Regions from separate parts of the Homo sapiens genome. Here region 2 is linked to region 1. Evidence: promoter capture Hi-C in human tissues and cell types (Jung and others, 2019). All regions are on one chromosome and are shown on one strand. Each heading gives the region's core, a stretch centred on a gene start or on the middle of the fragment in contact. The rest is flanking DNA. Distances are from core to core; before and after follow the strand shown.

Region 1 (7,350 bases), core at 1,395-3,894:
GGCTTGTCTTTAATGCCGATTTGTTATGTTTAGTAACCTTGCTTTCCCTTAATATAAATTAGTGTATTTCCTATATTAACTTTAGGAAATGCAGATAAGCAAAGGGAAGAAAAGAAAAATCACCTACAATTCCACTACCACCCAGAGATAACGCCCCTAGTGTTTTCATCTATATCCATGAAGACACGCAGTTTGCTCTGCGTGTGCAGGTGTGCGTTTTAGCCAGGGTGGTACTGTACATAGGTTATGTTATGCCTCTTTTCACTTGAAAAAATATGATGAGTCTTTACCAGGTCACGAAACATTTTTCTCCAGCATTATTTTGGAAGCTGCATTTGTCTTGCTTTGGGTGGACATACCATTATTCTTTTAACCAAACCTCTATTGTCAGACATGGAGGTTGTTTTCATTTTTTTCTCCTTTTTTTTTTTTTTTTTTTTTTTTTTGAGACGGAGTCTCGCTCTGTCGCCCAGGCAGGAGTGCAATGGTGCGGTCTCGGTTCACTGCAACTTCCACATCCTGGGCTCAAGCAATTCTCCTGCTTCAGCCTCCCGAGCAGCTGGGATTACAGGTGCCCGCCACCATGTCCGGCTAATTTTTGTATTTTTAGTAGAGACAGGGTTTCGCCATGCTGCCCAGGCTGGTCTCGAACTCCTGATCTCAGGTGATCTGCCCACCTTGGCCTCCCAAAGTGCGAGATTACAGGCATGAGCCACCACGCCCCACCTATTTTTTTCTTAAACTGTTAGAAATGAAGTCTGGGTGTTCCCACATTCCTTAGCAATCCAGGTGTCTTCCTTCCCGTTAATTCCTACATAACCACAGGCCCTCGAAACTACAGGATGCCCTTTTCCTCCATCAAGTTCCTTCTTCCAGTGCTTCTGAGAGGCCCCAAGGAACACTTTCGTGTTCCACAGACCTGTTGGGGCTGCGTCTTGTCCTCTCGGCCAGCCACTTGGGACCAAAGCCTGCTCTTCTCCCTAAGCGTCCCTTGTAACCTGTTTTTCTCGCTGTAGCTTCCCCACACTGCCTTGTCATCAAAGTCATCAAAAACCCTCTATCCATCATGGTTCATTCAGTAGCACAGAAACCTCTCCAGTCTTTCAGACCAAGGGACTTTAATGTAAAGGAGCTCGTCACCCAGAGGATGAAGGAGCTGGGACACTAATCAGGACAGACAGTTCAGAGATTTCCCCAAAGCAGGAAGCTGTGCCATCCCACCAACTGAAAGGAAAGATGAGGGGAGAAGGTGTTGCCAGAGCCAGGAGCTGGCCTCCAAACAGGAACAAGAAAGACATAAGGGGTTGCCTGGCTGATGGACTGTCCAGAGGGAGCCAGAACTGCAGAGGGATATGGCCATTGCTGGGGAAGCCACTCAAACAGAAAACGAGGGGAGAAATGCTCTGATCTCTGCCTCCCCAGTCTTCCCCCAGGGGCTAAACCTATCAGAAAGCAGTTGATAAAGGAGTCTAGAAAATGTAGTTTCCTGCAGTTTCAGGAAATGACTGGCATGGGCCCTACCTTAATTCCTCCAAAGCACAGCTTAGATTTGGCTGTTTTGTCAAACAAACTTTAGCAATCAGGGCTGATAACAATTACAATTCAGGAAAGAAAAACTTAAACACCGATCTCAGCATATCACAGCCCATTACACCCAACCCGTTGGCAGGATCCCTGCTAAAATTTCGCTTGCCTTTGTGTGCTTGGGGCCAGGCAAACTCTCCCCAGGGGCAGGACCCTCCAATCGTGTCCACCCTGACCAGAGTCCAGGCCCCAGGGCCCTTCTACCTTCTCCAGGCCCTGCAGGAAGGAGAAAACCATTTCCTAAACACCTGTCCCTTCATTCACACGAAGCTCATGTGCAGATCCTGCCCTACGTGGCAAAATGATGGGAGAGCAGCCTGAATCTTCATCGTCCCGAACCAAAGCCCCATTCATGAAGTTCAGCCCCATCTCTAGCACAGCAGAAAGAATCACTGAAGTTTGAGTTCCATTTTTTTTCTAAACTTTTGCAGATCCTAGACCCAAAGGCTCAAGGTAAGAGCGGCTGGGCTTCCTCACCCCCAACGGCCTCTCTAGGGGAGAGCTGTTCCCAAGCCCACCCCAAGCGTGGGGACCTGCCTTGATATGGAGGATCAAGGAGGAGCATCGGGTGCCCTCAATCTCCTCCTGCCAGAAAAGCAAAGGAGTCACAGCTTTTCCTTTGCTGCAAGAAACATTCTGGGACCTTTTTTTTCCCCCTCTGTTGTCCAGTTATTTTCATCAGGGTAAATCCCCTAGGAATAGAATTATTAAAGCAAAAGATATGTATGTGGTGTAGGCTTTTGATCCACAGTGCCAAATTGCTTTTTGATAAGGCTGCATATCGTGGATTATTCTTGCCTTTTCTGCCCCTCAGCTCCTTGATAAACCACTTGGGATGAATCAGCCACCGGACCAGATAAACAAGCCAGCCTGTTACTATTGCTGTTTTCTGCAAGTCGGAAGGGAACTCCCTTAGATCCCGCCCAGAACCTGGAATTCCAGAGCACACAGGGCCAGGACACCTTTGTACCCCTGCTCCCCACCGGCACAGGTCCCACCCACCCCCTTCTCCCCGCCCCATGCCCGGGTGGAGCCAGCTGCCAGGGCGCCAAGACTCCCAGCCCTCTCTCTGTGCACGGCAGAGTAGAGGCCAAGGGAGGGCTCTGTGCCAGCCCCGATGAGGACGCTGCTGACCATCTTGACTGTGGGATCCCTGGCTGGTGAGTGCCCATCTACCCTGTGGTCAGACCTCCCTTATCCCAGGGGCCAACGATCAGGGTCATCTCCCCAGCACCCTCCCCAGCCCGAGCATAGCCAGTTTCAGTTTCTCCCCTGCTAGGGCTGAGCAGGGTGCCGGGTGTTCACGGAGAAGCAAATGCCCAGCTTAGTTTGCTGGGGGCATGAGAGGGTGCCTCAGACCCTGGGTTCTTCCAGGGACCCAAAGGACCCTCGGGTCTTGAGGGATATAGCCAGCTGTCTGAACTGGGGGTGCTGGATCGCTGCACCTCAGTGAATGGAGAATTGGCCTGGAGGAGGCAGACATCCTTCGGTCCCTCAAACGGTGTCGGCACAGTTTGTACCATCCTTCCTCTGCCTCTCACTTGGCACTGGCCTGACAGGGGAGGAGGAGGAAGGACCGGGGGAAACGAAGCTTGAGTTCACTATTGCCTCCCTCCATGCCCCTGCAGGGCCTCTTTGGCCCCTTTTGTTATCATAGATCTGAAAGAGCATTTTCTCCTAGAGTGGCCAGGTCTGCTACATTAATAGGTCTTAAGACACAGGACTCATTTGGAAACAGGTCTTAAGGGCATAGTGTTCAAAGCCAATAAAGTGAGCGGAGTGGGGGGCTCATCATTATGGAGAACGTTACATGAGACCCTAGACTCTCTCTCTGCTCTCCTGGTGCATTGCATGAAATTCAGGGAACTTCCTTAGGAAGTCAAAGCATAGTCCTGATTGAGGATGGCGAGCAGGTATGGCCTCGGCCAGGCCCTCCTTGCTCAAGTGCAGGACGAGGCCCACGAAAAGGCAGAGCTTCCCACCTTCTCTGCCACTGTCCCGCCAGGGCTGCCTGCGTCTCCAGGGCTTCCAGCTCTGTGGGACCCCCTCCAGTCTGCTTCCCAGCATCAAGCTGGGCGTTCCAGGAAGATGTGAGGCACCCCCTTGAGGCACCAAGACACGTCCCTTTAGACCCTCAGCCATACTGGTTAGAAATCCTAGAGGCTCCCAGCCCTTTGAGATGGGGGACCCCAAGAAATAGCCCTTAGGAGATTGTCAAGGGTCAGCTGCCTCGCGCTGCACACACCGGGCCCTCACCCCCCCAATCTTAGGCTGACTCCAGAGCATGTGGAATTGTTTCTTGTTTGTGTATTTTTCCTTAGCTTCCCAGCTGGTTGACAGAACATTGTTTTTCCACATGAATGTGAAAAAACAAGTTGCCTTTTATAAATCCGCCAGGCTGCCAGGCTCCACACAACACATGTCTCCCCAGATTTCACAATATAGACTTTCACCCGGGAAGTGCCGAAGCAACACAGGCTGAGGAATGGATGATAGATTTGAGGAGGAAAAGGAGCGAGGAGGGTGGGAGAAGAGGGGGAGATCTTGTTAGACCCTGACATCCCTAAAAGACAGGAGTGGGCCTAGGTTCACTTACCCCACTTCAGGAAGCTAACTGCAGTTCCCTCCTGAAAAGTGGTGCCAACCTCCACGTAGCCCAGGGTCCTTTGCCTTGGCAACATGCCCCCACCTCAGCCACCAGCCTCCTTGCAACCCAGATGGGCCCTCTATTTCCCACCCAGAACACTGACCTCAACCAGCAACCGTTCCCGCTGCAGACTCTACCCCAAGCCTTGATGGAGCCTGGCTTCTCAAAGCCCACCCTCACCCTTCTGCCCTGACCCACCACCCAACCAGAAGCCACTGTTCAGGTCTGACCTTGACTGGACTCCTTTCCTCAACTTTAGACTCAGCCCTGAATCCAGGACCCCTCCCTCCAGAACTGACCCCAATTCCACCCAGCCTCACATCCAAACAAGATGTCAGCTACATCCTAAGGCTCCACGGCACAGCCGTCACCTTGCGTAGAGGCAGTAGACCCCTCCCCGCGCCATCCCTAAGGCCCCATTCTGGGGACTCCAGGAAGCCTGAAGACATTTTGCAGCTGCTGGGCCAGAACCCAAATTCAGAGAGGAGGGCAGCCTTCGAGGTTGGCCAGAGGATGTGCAGCGGGGTCGGACCATTCTTCCGTCCCCATCGGTCCTCGCCAAGCCTGAGGACCCCTCTTGTGTGTAGAGTTGGAGTAGGGGAATCAATAACTGTCTGCTCCCTCACACCTTGGGCCCACTGGCAGTCGTAGACGTGTCTGGGGAAGGAGAGGCACAGACATATTCAAGACACACACCCAGGCCGCAAGGCCTTGACCCAGCTGGGGTTGCTTAACATTTTCCCACCTGTTTATTTCCCACGCCAGCCGGCCAGGGCCTCCGAGCTCCGAGCCAGCTGCCAGCTTGGGCCGCCATTTTCCCGCAGGCTCTTGCTCTCCACAGCCCAAGCCTGGGGGCCTGAGGGAAGGGTTTTATAAGTTAAGGACTCTTTGTTTACAGTGCAGATTGCTTTAGAGGCTGCAGCCCCTCCCCAGCCCCTTCCTTGAGGCTCAGGCCCTCACTGCCCTTCCCTTAACAGAAGCAGAAGTGGGCTGGACAAAGACCTAGCCTGGAAGAGAGGGCTGTGGACTCTTCAATGGCCAGCTTCTCTTCTCCTCTCTCTTCTCCTCCTCCCTAAATTCATCCCTTTATCAGGTGCTCAGGTCCCTGAAGCCCCCCACCCTCATATAAAAGGGTGAACAAGATAGCCCCCTCCCTACAGAGCGAATGTCTTCCCTTCCCAGGTCTCCTCCCTTCAGACTCAACACATGTACATAGGGGCCTGTTAGACACTAAACACATTCACAGACGCCAACCCGCTCTATCCGCCCCACAACCAGTCTAGCACTGGGATGAATATTGTAGGTTCTTCACATGCTAACTGTGATGCTGGGCGGCAGCTCTCTCTGAGCCTCAGCTCATTCATCAAATGGGGATAGTGATAGTGGGCACGTTGTCGTGAGGATTTAATGAAGGGAGGGACTTGCCTGAAAGAGGCTGTGCACTTCACAAATGCCAGTGGCTGCTGTTGTCATTGTTGTTTGTCTTTCGGTAAATCAAACTATATCCATTTTAGAGATGAGGCAATTGAAGTTCTCGTTGCTTAAACAACTTTCCCAAGGCCACCCTGCCCACGTGTGGGCTCAGTCAAGAGCGCCTCCTCCACCATTGCTTCATCTGATCAACTTGGGGCAAGTCACTTCTTACACACTTTAGTTACATATCTCTAAAATAAGGGTGAGGACACCAACTTCAGGTTGTGTTAAAAAGTGAATGAGAGACAATACCAAGCATCAATGGCGATGTGGAGAAACTGAACCCCTCAAACAATGCTGGTGGGAATTTAAGATGGTGCAGCCATAACATCCTGGACAATATATGAGACCCCATCACTACAAAAAATTTAAAAATAAATTAGACGGATGTGGTGGTGCATGTCTGTAGTCCCAGCTACACAGGAGGCTGAGGTGCGAGGATTGCTTAAGCCCAGGAAGTCGAGGCTGCAGTGAGCCATGATCACGCCACTGCACTCCAGCCTGGGGGACAGAGCAAGACCCTGTCTCAAAGACCAAAAAAATGGTGTGGCCACTTTAGAAAATAGTTCGACAGTTCTTCAAAAGGTTAAAGATAGAGCTACTATATAACCTACCAAATTCCACTCTTAGATATATACCCAAGACAACTGAAAACATATGTCCACTTATAAAATTGAACACGGTGTTCACAGCAGCATTATTCATGGTAGCCAAAAAGTAGAAACAACCCAAATGTCCTGATGAGTGGATAAACAAAATGTGGTATATCACACAATGGAATATTATTCAGCCCTAAAAAGGAAGTACTAATCCATGCTACCACACGTGTGAACCTTGAAAACATTATGCTAAGTGAAAGAAGCCAGCCAAGCTCTATTTACATAAAAAGTCTAGAGTAGGGACATTCACAGACACAGGAAGTAGATTCGTGGTTGTCAGGGTTTAGGGGAGGAGAAGAATGGGTGGAGTGACTGCTAATGGGCATGCAGTTTCTTTTTGGGGTGCTAAAAATGTTCTGGAATTAGATAATAGCGATGATTGCACAACGTTGTGAAAATGCTAAGAAACCATTGAACTGAACACTGTAAGGTGGTGACATTTATGGAATGTGAATCACAACCCATTGCAAAGCAAAATGGCTGAGAATGGATGGTTGGTTAGAACAGCGTGGGGAGCATCCCCTCTTGCTGGTCCATTTGTAGAAGGCTGGGGGCCAGGGTCTCCCTGCCCACCCACCAGGCTGGCATCTTGAAAGCAAAGGCACTTTGCATGAAATTTATATGGGGCAGGACTCTGACTGAGCCCATACATGGGCAGGGTGACCCTGGGAAAGCCCCTGCTCACCCTCCTCCCACCCTCCTGCAGCTCACGCCCCTGAGGACCCCTCGGATCTGCTCCAGCACGTGAAATTCCAGTCCAGCAACTTTGAAAACATCCTGACGTGGGACAGCGGGCCGGAGGGCACCCCAGACACGGTCTACAGCATCGAGTATAAGACGTAGGCTTCTCTCTTGACCCCACCTCCTTTGACTGATCTGAAGCCAGCCCCTCTCCAAGGAATTCCCCTCCTCTCCATATGTTCCCATGTCCCCACCAGGACTGGTGTCACATAGCCCCTCCCAGATAAAGCTTTGCTCCTTTATGTT
Region 2 (7,350 bases), core at 1,412-3,911, 630 kb before region 1:
CTCTCTAACCAGCCAATCAGAAGAAATCCTATTACCATTTAGCCATACTGAGATCTGCTTTAATGGTTAAAAATGGAATAAACCAAGAAAATACTAAGTAAAACACGTTTCTTACAACTTACAAAGATGAGTCCAGCCTCACAGTAAAAATATGTGACAAAGACTCAAGGATAAAACCAACTCAAAAAACAAAAAAAAAAGAAGAAGAATTGGTGTGAGGAAAATGACAAGGTCAAGAAATTAAAGAAGCTAATTTATTTATAACCTCCCCTCAAAGGGAGGCATAAGTGACTATGCTTCATATACAAAGCAACTTTTTAAAAATTTGTGTGCTTGTTTTACAGAAAGATTCCTTATAATTTTTTTATTCTTTTTTTAAAGAAGCAAAGGCAGGCAGACTATAAGACTAATCAGTTTGGTAAGTGAGCCAAAAGCAAGGGGGGAAAAAACAGATCCAAAAGCACTGGCTGATCTCATTAGCTTTGCTTAAGAAACTTTATAGATGTGACTTCACTCCTGGATTACACGTCTATATTTAGTTTATACCTAATATGGATAAAGTCTTGAACCAACAGTCATTTCCTCTCTCCACAAAAAGAAACTTCCTTGCCTTTTTTTTTTTTTTCTACCAACCTCTGAAGGGGGAGGAAGGGAGAAAGGGAGAGGGCAGAAAGAAAAGAACTCACAGAAAAATAATTAACAAATTAGTATATGATTTTTGTTAAACTTGAACCATTTAGACATTTCTCAATTGGAAAACAATCCTAAAATCAAAATATGTGAGGCCAAGCACAATGGCTCATGCCTGTAATGGGAGGCCAAAGTGGGAGGATAACTTGAGTCCAGGAGTTCAAGACCATCTTAGGCAACACAGTGAGACCTCATCTCCACAAAAAAATTAATTTAAAAAAAATTAGCTGGGCATGGTGGCACTGCAAGTCCCAGCTACTCAGGGAGCTAAAGGAGGAGGATCACTTGAGCCCAGGAGGTCAAGGTGGCAGTGACCTGTGATGACACCACTGCACTCCATCCTGGGCAACAGTGAAACTCTGCCTTAAAAAAAAAAAAGACATTCAAGTCAGGTTCCTTAACAAGTTTATAAATAAACCCTCTAAAGTGCTTTATAAAATACTAATTAACCAGGCCCCCAAAATGCAACGAGGTGAGGTAATGGAAATTTTAGTTGCCTTTCAAATTTTACCAAGAGAACTGAAAGCAACCAAAGTCATCTAATGAACCATCTAGGCTCACTAGTTGTTAGTATGTTTTAGAAATATCCTTAAATATTCTCAGAATTTTTTTTTCAGGGTGACTGAAAACAGAACATAAGAAATTCTGTTAGGAAAGCATTCAAGTTTCAAATAAATAGAGAAAAATAACATAAACAAAGTTATTGATTCAGGTTCTGAAATCCCAAAGACGTTAGTACAAATCACAGTACTGCTACTTACTGGCCCTGCAACCATACCCAAACAATGATCTCTCTAATTCTCATGTGTTAAACAGTATTGATAGCACCTATTTCAAAGTTTATATGAGGATTAAATTAGCTAACACATGCAAACGGCTGGCACACTGTGCCTGGCCCATAGTAAGCACCCAATGCTATCTATTACCTCATGACCATTATTCTGGCTTTAGTAGGGAAACAAAAACTTACTGATCATTTTTTATATATCTGTTTATTCTGTATAGTGATAAATTAAGTAGCTTCAGAAAACTTATAACATTATTATAAAATAAAGATTTTAAAGTCACTTCATGATTCTTACATTATGTTTTTTTGTTTGTTTTCTTTTGTTTTGAGACAGAGTCTCACTCTGCCACCCAGGCTGGAGTGGAGTGGTGCAATCAGAGTGGCTCACTACAGCCTCAATCTCCTGCTTCAGCCCCACTAGTAGCTGAGACCACAGGCATGTGCCACCATGCCCCGCTATTTTTAATTATCATTAAATAAATGATAGAGATTATATCTACCAATTACAGACATGCTAAAGTTTTCTTTCTTTTTCTTTTTTTTTTTTTTTTTGGTGAGGCAGAGTCTCACTCTGTCGCCCAGGCTGGAGTGCAGTGGCACAATCTCGGCTCACTGCAACCTCCACCTCCTGGGTTCAAGTGATTCTTCTGCCTTAGCCTCCCGAGTAGCTGGGACTACAGGCACATGCCACCATGCCTCCTAATTTTTGTATTATGAGTAGAGATGGGGTTTCACCATCTTGGCCAGGCTGGTCTCGAACTCCTGACTGACCGCCTCAGCCTCCCAAAGTACAGGGATTACAGGCGTGAGCCACCGCACCCGGCCGACATGTTAATGTTTTAAGCTTTATCATCTCATTGTGGTATAAGATGAAAAAGTCTAAAAACAATAATCTTAGATAGAGTCTAGAAAAATTAGAAGACTTCATTTTTACTCCTTAAAAATTACTAAATATAAAACCTGTAGATCTACACTATCTCAACTTCTTCCAGACAAATTAAATAAAAAGAGCTTAATCTCTTCTCTTTAAGAGAAATGTAGATGTGTTAAAAATATAAGCACGTCTACATTTCCTTTAAAGAAAGCATTAGATAAAGGCTAGTTAATATATGACCTGTTCAGTTGTAAAGGTGAATACCACAAAAATCAAGAAATAGTGAAATTTGGTAGCACAGGAAGCCAAAATCCATAATTCAAAAGTACTTTTACCCAGCACTTTGGGACGCCACCACAAGGGGATTACTTGAGTTCAGGAATTTGGGACCAGCCTGGGCAACATGGCAAGATCCCCATATCTTAAAAAAATGAAAATTTTGGCTGGGCGTGGTGGCTCATACCTGTAATCCCAACACTTTGGGAGGCCAAGGAGGGCGGATCACCTCATGTCAGGAGTCCGAGATCAGCCTGACCAACATGGAGAAATCCCGTCTCTACTAAAAATACAAAAATTAGCCAAGCGTGGTGGCAAGCGCCTGTAATCCCAGCTACCCGGGAGGCTGAGGCAGAACTGCTTGAACCTGGGAGGCAGAGGTTGTAGTTAGCCGAGATCATGCCACTGCACTCCAGCCTGGGCGACAGAGCGGAACTCCATGCCAAAAAAAATATATATATATATAATTTTAATTAAAAATTTTTAATTAAGAGTATTTGTACAGAACCAATAAGATCCTATGTCATAGATTATTCCTCTTTACTTTTGCACTTTCACATTAACAAAAAAGAGAGAGAGGAAAAAAAGAAAAACATTCTCACTACTAATGGACTCTCAAGCTTTAGCTACAAGTCCAGCAAGAGCTGCTGAGGCCGATGGACTAAGATGGCAGAGTCCAATCTGACTGTCCTTTAGTTACCTAGTAAGTGTCAACAGGATCAGGGTTCACTGAAGTTAATTCAAGAGCAAACTCAAGCTTAACCTTGAACTTTTTTTGTACTAACCCTGCTCTTTTGATAAAGAATGAAAAGTTCCCACCTGGTGGTAGTGGCAGTCTGGCAGATGCTTCTAATCCTGAAGGTTGAAACCACATATGGTATATTGAATATAATAAACTAACCATAGGCCAAGCCAACATGGTCTTAATTCTGCATTCCTAAAGGCAAAATAGTAAGCAAACAAGGCTTACTATGAGTTAGACTCTAAGGGCTTTTCTTATATTAACTCTTATAATCTTTACAAAAGCCCAAGATTACCCCAGTGGGGACACCAAGGCAACTAGTGAAGGGTAGAACTAGGATTCAAACACAGGCCACATGGCTCGGGAGTCCACACTCTTAGCCACTACATCAAGCTTGTCCAACCTGAGGTCCGTGGGCCACATGTGGCCCAGGACCACTTTGAATGAAGCCCAACACAAATCCATAAACTTTCTTAAAACATTATAAGGTTTTTTTGGTTTTTCTTTTCTTTTTCTTTTTTTTTTTTTTTTTTTTTTTTAGCTCATCAGCTATTGTTAGTGTATTTTTTGTGTGGCCCAAGGTAATTCTTCTTCCAGTGTGGCCCAGGGAAGCCAAAAGACTGGACACTGCATACTCTAACAGCATAATACTAAAGATCCAGTCTTCCATTATGATGACTCAATTGCCTACTTGAAATATTAATTCAAATGGTCTTCAATTCCAAAAGAAACTATTTCAGCACCTAGACAGAAATACTGGCTAGGCGTGGTGGCTCACACCTATAATCCCAGCACTTCAGGAGGGCAAGGTGGGCGGATCACTTCACGCCAGGAGTTCAAGACTAGCCTGGCCAACATAGCGAAACTATGTCTCTACTAAAAATACAAAAAAATTAGCCAGTTGCAGTGGCACATGTCTGTAGTCCCAGCTACTAGGGAAGCTGAGGCACAAGAATCACTTGAGCCCAGGAGACGGAGGTTGCAGTGAGCTGAGATTGTGCCACTGCACTCCAGCCTGGGTGACAGAGTGAGACCCCGTCTCAAAAAAAAAAAAAAAAAAAAAAAAAAAAAAAAAAAAAAAAAAAAAAAACCGTCTGGGCAACATAGCAAGACCTGATATCTAAAAAAAAGAAAAAAGGTGCAGTGGCTCATGCCTATATTCCTAGCACTTTGGGAGGCCAAGATAGGTGGATCATTTGAGGTCAGGATTTCAAAATCAGCCTCGCCAACATGGTGAAACCCTGTCTCTATTAAAAATATAGGCCGGGCGTGGTGCCTCACACCTGTAATCCCAGCACTTTGGGAGGCCAAGGTGGGTGGAACAGGAGGTCAAGAGATTGAGACCATCCTGGCCAACATGGTGTAACCCTGTCTCCACTAAAAATACAAAAATTAGCTGGGCGTGGTGGCACGTCTATAGTCCCAACTACTCAGGAAGCTGAGTCAGGAGAATAGCTGGAACTCGGGAGGTGGAGGCTGCTGCAGTGAGCTGAGATCGCGCCACTGCACTCCATCCTGGCAACAGAGCGAGACTCCATCTCAAAAGAAAAAAAACTAAAATTAAAATTTAAACAAATTTTAAAAATTAGCCGGGCATGATGGTGGGCGCCTGTAATCCCAGCTAGTTGGGAGGCTGAGGCAGGAGAATTGCTTGAACCCACAAGGTGGAGGTTGCAGTAAGCCAAGATGGCGTCACTGCTCTCCAGCCTAGGTCACAGAGCGAGACTCTGTCTCAAAAAAAAAAAAAAGAAAGAAAGAAAGAAGAAAAAGAAGGAAAGAAAAATACAAATGATACTTCAAGTAAACAATCATCCCTGGCTCTGATTTTGGGATCTATGATCTCAAATATTTCAAAAGATATAAAGAACTTTTTACATGCAATACGGAGGCAACGGTATAATCTAACACAGGGGTTCCTGCTGAGTCATCAGGACAATAGCTGCTCTCAACACTCCTAATCTTAATGGCTATCAAGCCACATGCTCAGGGTCAAAACACAGTTGCAGACTCTCCCTTAAAACTTTTTTACTTTGCAAGGAAAAACAAGTAAATCTGTTTATTTCAATCTAAAATATGAACTGAGCCCAGTCATTTGCATCACCCTCTCGACCTATTTCTCTGGCTTCTTGTTAGGCATTTGCTTTTTCCCAATCATGTGATCTTTTAGTTCTTCTTTTCCTCCCAACCTCCTCTGAAATTAAGCCTGTGCACGGAAAAAAATAAAAGCTTCTATATATTCCTTCAGCAAACATTTTATTGAGTAACAATCAAATGAGTTAATATTTCATAGATGTAGTCAACACAGTGCCTGGCACATAGAAAGCACTCCATAAATGTATATATTATTTCAATTAAATATGAAATGCTTTTCCATATATACTTCTTCTATCTCATGCATTTAAGAAATCCAACAGAAAACAGTCAATGGGAACAGTATCTATTCTAAATATAGGAAAACCAGATCTTCCTAGAAGTGAAAAGGCCTCCCAGGCAGTGAGTTACAATAACTCTAGTGGAAAATATTATCCCATCTAAGATAATTGTGTATAGTACGCCTTCCTTATAGCTCATTCATTACTGACACCTGAGGGTACATTTTCTTGCTTCCCAGAGCTTAGAGCAGTTCCTAGTAGGCACTTAGTAAAGACATGTTTAATGAAAGATTTTTTAAATTTGTAGTCTCTGTACTTACCAAAAAACCAACAACAACAACAACAACAAACCTGCAGTGAGAGAGAGTTAAAACACAAAGTAAATAAAAACAAATTTAGGGCTTTAGTGGTGAATCTCAAATTTGCTTGAAAGATTATTTTTAATAAAAGACAAAAGAATCAATTTTGGCAGGAATCCAGATGCCCTTCTGTGAAATGCCAGAAGATACCAGAGTATGAATTTTTTTTTTTTTCCCTTGAGATAGGGTCTTGCTCTGTCGCCCAGGGTGGAGTACAGTAGCACTATCTTGGCTCACTGCAAACTTCGCCTCCTGGGCTCAAGCAATCCTCCCACCTCAGCCTCCCAAGTAGCTGGGACCATAGGCGTGTGCCTCAATACACAGCTAATTTTTGCATTTTTTGTGGAGACAGGGTTTCACCATGTTGTCCAGGCTGGTCATGCAATCCACCTGCCTCGCCTCCCAAAGTGCTGGGATTATAAGTGTGAGCCTTGGCCGGACGTGGTGGCTCACACCTGTAATCCCAGCACTTCGGGAGGCCAAGGCAGGTGGATCACCTGAGGTTGGGAGTTCGAGACCACCCTGACCAACATGGAGAAACCCCGTCTCTACTAAAAATACAAAATTAGCCGGGTGTGGTGGCACATGCCTGTAATCCCAGCTACTCGAGAGGCTGAGGCAGGAGAATCGCTTGAACCCGGGAGGCGGAGGTTGCGGTGAGCCAGAGATTGTGCCATTGCACTCCAGCCTGGGCAACAACTACCCACCAAACAGTGCTGCTAAGCAGATGATCCTTTTCCAAAGCACAGCACTTATAAAGAATATTTTTAGCCAACTATAATTTACTAGCAGTAGGTTAAGGTCTATCAACTATACTTAAGTGCATTTACTCATTCAATAAGACTTACTGAATGCCTATTATGAGGCAGACAATCTACTAAATATCGTGGTGGACGCAAAGATGAATAAGACAAGGAATCTACTCTCCTGGAGCTTACTTTATTATAGCAAAGATAAGACATACATGCAAAACTATCAACAAAATAGATAACCGAAGAGTCATATAAGAGGCATGAAATATGAATCTTGAAGGATTAACAAAGGCAGACACATTTAAATGGAGATTTACAGGATTATGGAGTTTAAACAAATGGGAATGGAAGAGATGGGAAAGGTTGCTTCAGGGAAACAAGATAGCTCATATGGAAACAAAGAAGAGTTCAATTTAGCTGGACTGTAAGACCCAGGAGAAGTAGGAGATAAATTTGTCCAATTAATTAGAGCTAGACTATGAAGGTCATAGACTTGAA

What was found. The method cuts DNA at HindIII sites, captures the fragments that hold promoters and counts their contacts. A contact is called where the count stands out against the background at its distance.
Region 2: a contact is called between a fragment that was not itself captured here and the fragment with the promoter of IL22RA1 in region 1, in 1 of the 25 tissues and cell types used here (aorta).

What each region holds. Positions count from the first base shown.
Region 1 is chr1:24,138,434-24,145,783 of GRCh38, reverse strand. IL22RA1 (interleukin 22 receptor subunit alpha 1) reads left to right here and starts at 2,644. Exons shown (of 7, transcript NM_021258.4): 1 at 2,644-2,744; 2 at 7,070-7,202. The coding sequence starts at 2,702. The HindIII fragment of the contact is 7,521 bases long and covers 1-5,254 here.
Region 2 is chr1:24,763,583-24,770,932 of GRCh38, reverse strand. The region is part of intron 1 of CLIC4 (chloride intracellular channel 4); the gene reads right to left. Among named protein-coding and RNA genes, the nearest start is that of CLIC4, 22 kb to the right of the region's middle. The HindIII fragment of the contact is 4,036 bases long and covers 644-4,679 here.